2 separate regions of the Homo sapiens genome follow, and region 1 is linked to region 2. The links are contacts of gene promoters, found by promoter capture Hi-C in human tissues and cell types (Jung and others, 2019). All regions are on one chromosome and are shown on one strand. The core of a region is centred on a gene start or on the middle of the fragment in contact, and the rest is flanking DNA. Distances in the headings are between cores, read along the strand shown.

The links. The method cuts DNA at HindIII sites, captures the fragments that hold promoters and counts their contacts. A contact is called where the count stands out against the background at its distance.
Region 1: a fragment that was not itself captured here is called in contact with the fragment with the promoter of TTLL2 in region 2 in 1 of the 25 tissues and cell types used here (mesenchymal stem cells).

Annotation. Positions count from the first base shown.
Region 1 is chr6:167,189,161-167,193,220 of GRCh38, reverse strand. It overlaps the pseudogene TCP10L2. Among named protein-coding and RNA genes, the nearest start is that of GPR31, 33 kb to the right of the region's middle. The HindIII fragment of the contact is 7,121 bases long and covers 1-4,060 here.
Region 2 is chr6:167,322,849-167,326,855 of GRCh38, reverse strand. It overlaps TTLL2 (tubulin tyrosine ligase like 2), which reads right to left and starts at 1,770. Exons shown (of 3, transcript NM_031949.5): 1 at 1,636-1,770. The coding sequence starts at 1,682. RefSeq lists an enhancer at 1,730-2,231. The HindIII fragment of the contact is 5,612 bases long and covers 1-4,007 here.

The DNA of each region.
Region 1 (4,060 bases), core at 186-2,685, 130 kb after region 2:
TAGAGACAAGGCCTCGCTCTGTCACCCAGGCTGGAGTGCAATGGTGTGATCATGGCTCACTGCAGCCTCAGACTCAGAGCTCAAGTGATCCTCCTGCCTCAGCCTCCCTAGCTAGGACTATAAGAGCATGCCACGATGCCCAGCTAATATTTTATTTTTTGAAGGAATAGGGTCTTGGTATGTTTCCCAGGTGGTCTCTAACTCCTGGCCTCAAGAGACCCTCCCGCTGTGGCCTCCCAAAGCACCAGTATGTTTCCCAGGTGGTCTCTAACTCCTGGCCTCAAGAGACCCTCCCGCTGTGGCCTCCCAAAGCACCAGTATGTTTCCCAGGTGGTCTCTAACTCCTGGCCTCAAGAGACCCTCCCGCTGTGGCCTCCCAAAGCACCAGGATAACTAGTGTGAGCACCATGCCCAGCCCACAAACTGTATTTAAGCAAAATGAATACAGTGAAGAATCTGACAACTGAGGAAAAATTCTACCCCTTAAAATAATTTTTAGCACAAAATGGTAAAAGATTGTTTTCCGGTTGTATATTAATGGAACACCCTGCAGAAACTGGGGGCTCTTCTTTGGGTCAACAGCTGAGAGCAACTGAATTCACTCCCTGCCTGGTACATATCAATGCCTGACTCTTGGCTGATTTGTATGAATGTATAAGAACCATGCATGAGACACACAATTGCACCTGTAAAATGGAAGGAGTGGGAAACAATGGGACTTCTGTTTCACTCTGTTCTTGAAATATCAGCCGTAGGCAGAACTGTTGAACGTCTGATAAATATATCCAAGAACAGTAACAGAACTTAGAATTCCTGCTGGAAAATTAACTGATCAGAGACCTTCTACATGGACCAGCTGAGAGTCAAAGTTTTAGGTCTTTTAAACAAAAATAAAATACAGACCTATAAATACTTTTCTTTTTCAGAAGACTGGCGTTAATATTAATCAATCGCTCAGCATGGCCTTTGCAAACTAGCAAGTGTAATTTTTCTTTGTCGAATGTTTGCTGGAGGTCACTCAAGAAAACAAATGCTCTAGTGCCCACTTTGCTGCTATGTGCCCAGTCAGAGCCTAAATGACAGCTTGTGAAGGCAAAAATTCTAACAAGACACACAGCTGCACTGGCTGAAATATTAGGACAAAAAGAAAAAGGGTGGGAGCCAGGAATTCACAGGACAGTGTGTCTCAGCAGCTTCAAGGGCCCATCTGGAGGTCCGTTGTGTCACGGAGGAGCAGATACCCCACAGCGGCCTTGATTCTGCCCTTGCAATGGGGCAGATCAGACATCCCAGCCACACATCCACTACAAATACCGAGGAATGCTCAAGCAAATCACAAAATCCCTGGGAAATGAGCACCCAAGTTCATGGAAGGGGCTACAAATCCCAGAGGGTGCTGGAATGCAGACTCGAACCTGACCTGCGGCTGCCTTGGTGACCTCTGCAGTCTCCAGGAGGTTTGGTCCTTAGTCACTCTGCTGGGATAGGATGAAGGGCTTTGTCTGGGAACTTAAAGAGGACACTCTCTGAGGGTTAGAGGCCCAAAGAAAGAGGGAACTAGAAAATACCTCCCTGCCGGCAGATGGAGAGCACCAAGGAGTGTTGCTGTCTCTCTCTGAGCTCTTTCCAAAGAATGTGTTACTACAGGGTGACCCTCATTTACCCTTAGCAATTGCAGTTCTGCTACCTGTACCTGGGACACCTTAAACTAAGAAGCTAACATGAAGTGATCCCAGGCTGGTCGTGCCCTGGGACACCTGGCAGAAGCAAACACAAAGCTTTCTGGATACTATCTCCCAGACTGGGCCCCATAGGATCGCCACCAACACAGGCTGCCAGCACAAATATAAAATAGGTGAGGAAGCGCAACACCATGAGGAAATGCCAGAAGTATTGGAAGCAGAGACAAGCTAGCAGCAGCCAGTGTCACGCGGAGCTCCGAGACGGCAAGCGTGGTGCTACCAGAAACTGATGACAAGGCAAATGTTTGTAGAATATTTAAAAAATTAAAGTAGGAAATTAAAAATGAAAGAGAGAAAAAATTCTTGGTGGATTTGAAAAAGAACAAATGAAATCAATATAATCTTCAAAATTAAAGCTAAATGATATATTAAATAGCACATAATATTCAGCTGAAGAGAAAACTGAGAAACCAGAAAAATAATTTACCCAGATGATAACAAGAAAATATAATATGTGAAGAGGGAAAGACGCTAGAATGAGGTGGTGTAATGCAGCTATAATTGGAAGTACAGGAAGAGAAAGAATGGAGGAAAGGTAAGATTGGTAAAGATAATAGTTCTGAATTTCCCTGAACTTGATAGTGTTCCCAGATAAAATATAGGACACCAGTTAAATCTGAATTTTCACATAAACTACAAATGACTTTTTAGTGTATAAGTATGTCCCACATACTGCATGGTACATACTCATAACAAAAAAACATCATTTATTATTCACCTGAAATTCAAATTCAACTGGGCATCCTGCATTTTTATTTGCTAAATCTGGCAACCTAAGCTTCTGAAAGACACAGTGATTATATTTAAGATGCACAACAGGCTGGCCGCGGTGGCTCACACCTGTAATCCCAGCACTTTGGGAGGCCAAGGTAGACGGATCACCTGAGCCATCCTGGCTAATATGGTGAAACTCCGTCTCTACTGAAAATACAAAAAATTAGCCAGGCATGGTGGCACACACCTGTAATCCCAGCTACTTGGGAGGCTGAGGAAGGAGAATCACTTGAACCAGGGAGGAGGAAGTTGCAGTGAGCCGACGTCATGCCACTGCACTCCAGGATAGAGCAAGACTCCATCTCAAAAAAAAAAAAAAAAGCAAAACAAATCCCCAATACAATGAACAAAATTAAATCCATAACTAGACATATCATAATGTCACTGGAGACAGAAGAGTCCTTAAAAGCAGCAAGTAAAAAAAAAAATCACGTTCGAAGGAAGAAATTAGTCCACCATCAGATCCTCCAGCAGACACCGTGTGGGAGTGGAATAAAGTCCTCAACACGCTCAGAAAAATCACTGTCATTCCATTGCTCAATACTATCCAATGGCTTCTCCACAATGGTCTACACTGCCTGGTCCTGGCACTTTGACCTCATCTCCTGTACCCCTGCCACACCGGCCTCCTTGCTCTTCCTCAGACACACCACACACTTTTCACGGCTCTTTCTCACTCTAGAATGTTCTTCCTGACACGCACACAGCTCCCTCTCTCACATCACTCATGGATCCCTAAAATATCCCCCCTCAGTGAGGCCCTCCTCAACGGCATACAGATGGCCCCCTAGGGCAGCAGCCCAGCACTCTCCCTCCCTGCTTTCTACCCTCTTGTTTTTCTCTGTAGCTTTTCATAGAGACTGATTTTTATATTGATATTTATTTTTACCTGATTATTTTATGCTTCCCTCCAATAAAATGTCATGAAATAAGAACTTTTCACAAATTTGCTCACTGCTGGATCCCTAGCCCTAAAACAATGCCTGCCACAGGGTGGCCATGTAATAGCTATGGGATGAGGGGTCAGAAGGTGCATCAGGACGAACGACCACTCATGAACAAGGCAAAACAAAGGACATTTTCAGATGAGCCAAAAGGGCTGATTGCCCCCGTCTCCTCATGCTCGTCAAGTAGAAGGAAATTGTGCCAAGAAGAAAGGCCCAAAATATAAGAAAGAAGAGCCCCAAATTCTGCATAAATTTAGAAAGTTTAAAGTAAACACTGGTTACATAAACACCACGGTAATAATCATAACTAATACTGAGGGTGAAAATCAAGTTAGAGTAAAAATCCTGGCAGAAGCCAACACAATGGCGTGAAAGATTGGGGAGGGGAATTCGGACTAAAAGACTCTTGATTTGGTTGTAGAGGACAGTAAGGACACTGATACATTTTCAGTTTATGCAATAAAACCTCAGGTTAAAAGGAAAGTTATTTTCAGATTATATATTTTTCTTAATGTCTGTTTCTTATAAGATCACATTTAAAGGTAAAGATTTAGAAATAGCAAAAGAAAGAATAGAAACAGATATACCAGGCATATA
Region 2 (4,007 bases), core at 521-3,020:
ACATTGTCTACCAGGGGTGTCCAGTCTTTTGGCTGCCCTGGGCCCATTGGAAGAAGAATTGTCTTGGGCCACACATAAAATACACTCACACTAACGACAGCTGATGAGCTAAAAACACAAAACAAAATCACAAAAAATTCATGATGTTTTAAGAAAGTTTACAAATTTGTGTTGGGCCACATTCAAAGCTCTCCTGGGTTGCATGAGACCCAAGGACTTCGGATTGGACAAGCTTGGTGTAGACATAGAAAATATCCCACCTTTATTGGGTAGGAACGCACAGTAGCTGCAGGCCTTGTGCGTGATTGTTCTAGGTCATTGAAGCCATTTGTGGAGATCAGTCACCCTCAAGCACTTGGCCTGTAAATGGTCCACATTCTGCTTGTCACCTTTCCTGATGCATAGTTGATAGCTGTGGCTTATAGTTTATATGGAATGTAGAATGCTTTTCACCCCAATTATAGATGAGACAGTCCCGTTTTTTGAGTTGACCAACTTAAAAAAACTTCCTACCTAAATGTTCTTTTGAATAAAAATTTGTATTGCTTGAAACACAGAATAATTATTTTATTATTAAACCAGAAATCATGCACTATTTTTTCTGTTAATTATCAGGAAAGTTCTGTTTTCTCAAGAAAGTTCTAAGGTCGCAGAGGTCAAAGATCAAGTCCCATGTGTACGCTCAGCCCCAAGACACCCAGAGTAGCCTCATTTCCAACAAACCCGGGGTAGACTGAGCTGCTTGAAACGCAAACGCCATCACTAGCCCAAGTTGGGAGAGCTGACTTTGCCTCTTTGAAGACTGGAGATGGGCAGGTGTGATCTCTTCCCTCATCATGACCTCTGCCTGCGGTGTGGAGGCTACAGGCCGGCAGGCACTCACGGCCTTGCACCCGTTCTCGGCCGCTGTTCGGCCTGTCACAGCCCGCTTCCCGCTCGCATGTGACAACAGGAGCCCAGTGCTTCAGCCCACCCTCCTCAGCCTCAAATGCCCCTAGAGCCCCTGAGTTTCTGCTGATGGAAGCCCACCTCTCCCAGGAAGCCCAGCATGAATGCCCACTCCTCCTTGAAGCCCTTCCTTTCTACACTGGGGGGATTTTCTTTTCCCCCGTGGGGTCCATACCACTTCACACTTATCCTATGGAAACAATTCTGCTCGGCCCTGAATTACAACCATGTGTGTTTCATAGATGATCCAGTTCCGTCTCATAACCCTAGCATCTGTCACAGTTCCCAGAGCACAGCGGCCATTCAATCGGCTTTGGTTGAATTCAGTTGAATTTCCTGTACCCACTATGGGATGCAGTTAACTTACACTCCCCTCCTTTGGTAACTTTAGTCTCAGGAATGGGTCTACTTCGTTCACTCTTATATAACTGGCACCTCAGCATGCAGGAGGCACTGGACACCATAGGAAATTTTTGGATTGAAAAGTACATGACTTCATACAATGCTGGACTGCTTTTCCCTTGAAGGAGTATGAAGGGCTGACTACAAATTGCCCCTCGGGGGTCCCAGTGCACACTCGCTGCTCCTAGTGACCCTGGCCCCTGTGCTCTCGGGAAGGGGCTGGTCCTGGAACAGAGGCATGATCGGGGCCACCCTCCCATCCTACGTGTCGCCTCCTACGCTTACCCCAGCGCCTGGCTTTGTGTGGAGGAACACAGGTCCCGCCCTCTCATTGGGCGCTGGTTCCGAGGGTGGCCTCTGTGGGTCTCTGTGCAGCAGCTGCAGCGCCAGCTGAAATGCGCGGAGGCTGGAGGGAGCACTGGTTGCTGATGATGCAGGGTCTGCTCTCCTCACAAAGGGGAAGCCAGTCATAGACTCAGGGTGGGGCCCAGACTGTCAGGACCCCTTAGGGACAGGGACCCAGGCTTCATCACACCTTCCTCCCTCCAAGCTTCAGAGTTCTCTCTCCGACCCAGTGGGCCTCCTGCCAGTCCCCATGCCTCAGGCCTCAGCGGCCAGCACACAGGGGGCAGGCCTTGTGGGCTGCCTGGCGGGGTGGCATCTGTTCTTGCCAGGTTCTCCTGTTGCTTCGCCTGCATGGAATCTTAATATTTAACGTGGGCTGGGTGCGGTGGCTCATGCCTGTAATCCCAGCACTTTGTGAGGCCAAGGCAGGCAGATTACAAGGTCAGGAGATGGAGATAATCGAGTTGAAATCCCGTCTCTACTAAAAAAAATACAAAAATTAGTTGGTCATGGTGGTGGGTGCCTGTAATCCCAGCTAATTGGGAAGCTGAGGCAGGAGAACTGCTTGAACCCAGGAGGTGGACATTGCAGTGAGCCATGATTGCGCCGCTGCACTCTAGCCGGGCGACAGAGCAAGACTCCATCTCAAAAAAAAAAAAAAAAAAAAAGTTATGTCTACACAAAAGCAGTTGAGATTCCAAAATGAATTACGTGTCTTTTTGTTTAAGCCATGTTTGTGTCAGAGATCCCAGTTGGACCCCTCCTTCCAGCTCAGGCTGTGTCCTCGCTAATCTAACGGCCTCCGGCCACCACCCCTGAGGTTCAGGACTGCAGGAACTGGAGAGGCCTTGCCAGGCGTCTCAGAGCCGTAGACTCTCTACCCTCGGCACATGTTGGCTCTGGCAAGTGGCTGCCTCTGTGGATGACAGTTGAATGCTTTATTGCCATCTATTCGATTACAGGCATTGCCACCGTCTTCCAGAAACAATCAATTGCTTCACGTAACTCTATAAAAACTGCACACCAAGCTGCTGAGGAGGTTGCCCAAGTTCTGTCAAGCACAGGGAAACATGGCTAATTTCCTTATCCACAAACCAAGAACAAAAGTCATTCATAAGATATAATCTGAAAGGCATTTTTCTTTTTCCATTTGACATGTTCATGCATTGTTAATTATTTATTGTTTTTCTCCCAGCACGTGGTGGGGTAAATTTTGTAAAAATGAAGTGAAATGAGGTTCTTCCACCAGGACTGTCTTCCTGAGCGTGCGAGGAAGGGTGGGTGGGTGGGGTTACTTTATCTGGGCTTCCTGCACTCCCAGGGAAGGCAATCCTGGCACAAGCAAGAGCACCTGGGCTCAGATCACTGGTGTGTCGATTTGTAAATCATGCATTTACTCAGCCATGTTTCATCTGTCCCTTCCATTGGAGATGTTACACCTGCACCTCCGAGACTTCGTGCTGACTCTCCACTTGGGTATCTGGCAGAAGAAGGGCAAAGCTATCAAGACTAGAGGAGACTCCTAGGGGCATTTTGGCAAGAAAAATATGCGGTGTGCATTTTTTATAAAAATGTATTTTTGTCTGAAGTGAGCACTAGAAGCAAACACATTTCCCCAAACCATTTGTTGTTCCCTTTGATTATTTCCCTGATTTCACATGGGGCTCACTCCTCTCCTTGGCTTCAGTTCTCCACCTAACTCCTGGTTACTGGATATGGAAAGGCTTGGAGATGGGCTTTGCACCTCCTAGGGACTGACCACACAGATTCTGGACTTTAACGTCAGAGACCCAACCCAGAGGAGCACTGGATCCCACCACAGTGTTGGTCCAGCGTCTCCTCCCGCCCTGGCTTCGTGCTGCAGTCAGCGTGCTTGGGGGCTCCCTATGTTCTGTTGTGTGGAACTCACAAATGCCCACTATTATGGCATAAATCTATCCCCCGCTTCCCACTGTTGGCACCAGAACACACTTATTTTACGCACCCTCCTGTGGAATCAAGAGGAGGTTAGATTCATTATGATGTTTACATCTATAATTTTGGCAAAGTGCAAGAAAACTCTGTACCAATACGTAGAATTTTCTCCATTTTATGACACCCCTATCCTATCCCTCCAGTGAGCATCAAGACTCTCATCCCAGGTGGTTGATGGAAGGAGAACCCCTTCTACCCTCTACTGAGCCTGAGGGAGAAAGACTGAAAAACAGCGTGGCTTAAGGGAATTCGGGGGGACTTCTGTGCCTCCCAAAGATCTTCCCAACCCGGTGGCCAAAGCCTAGACATTTTTCCAGTTAGCATTCCTCAAAAACCCC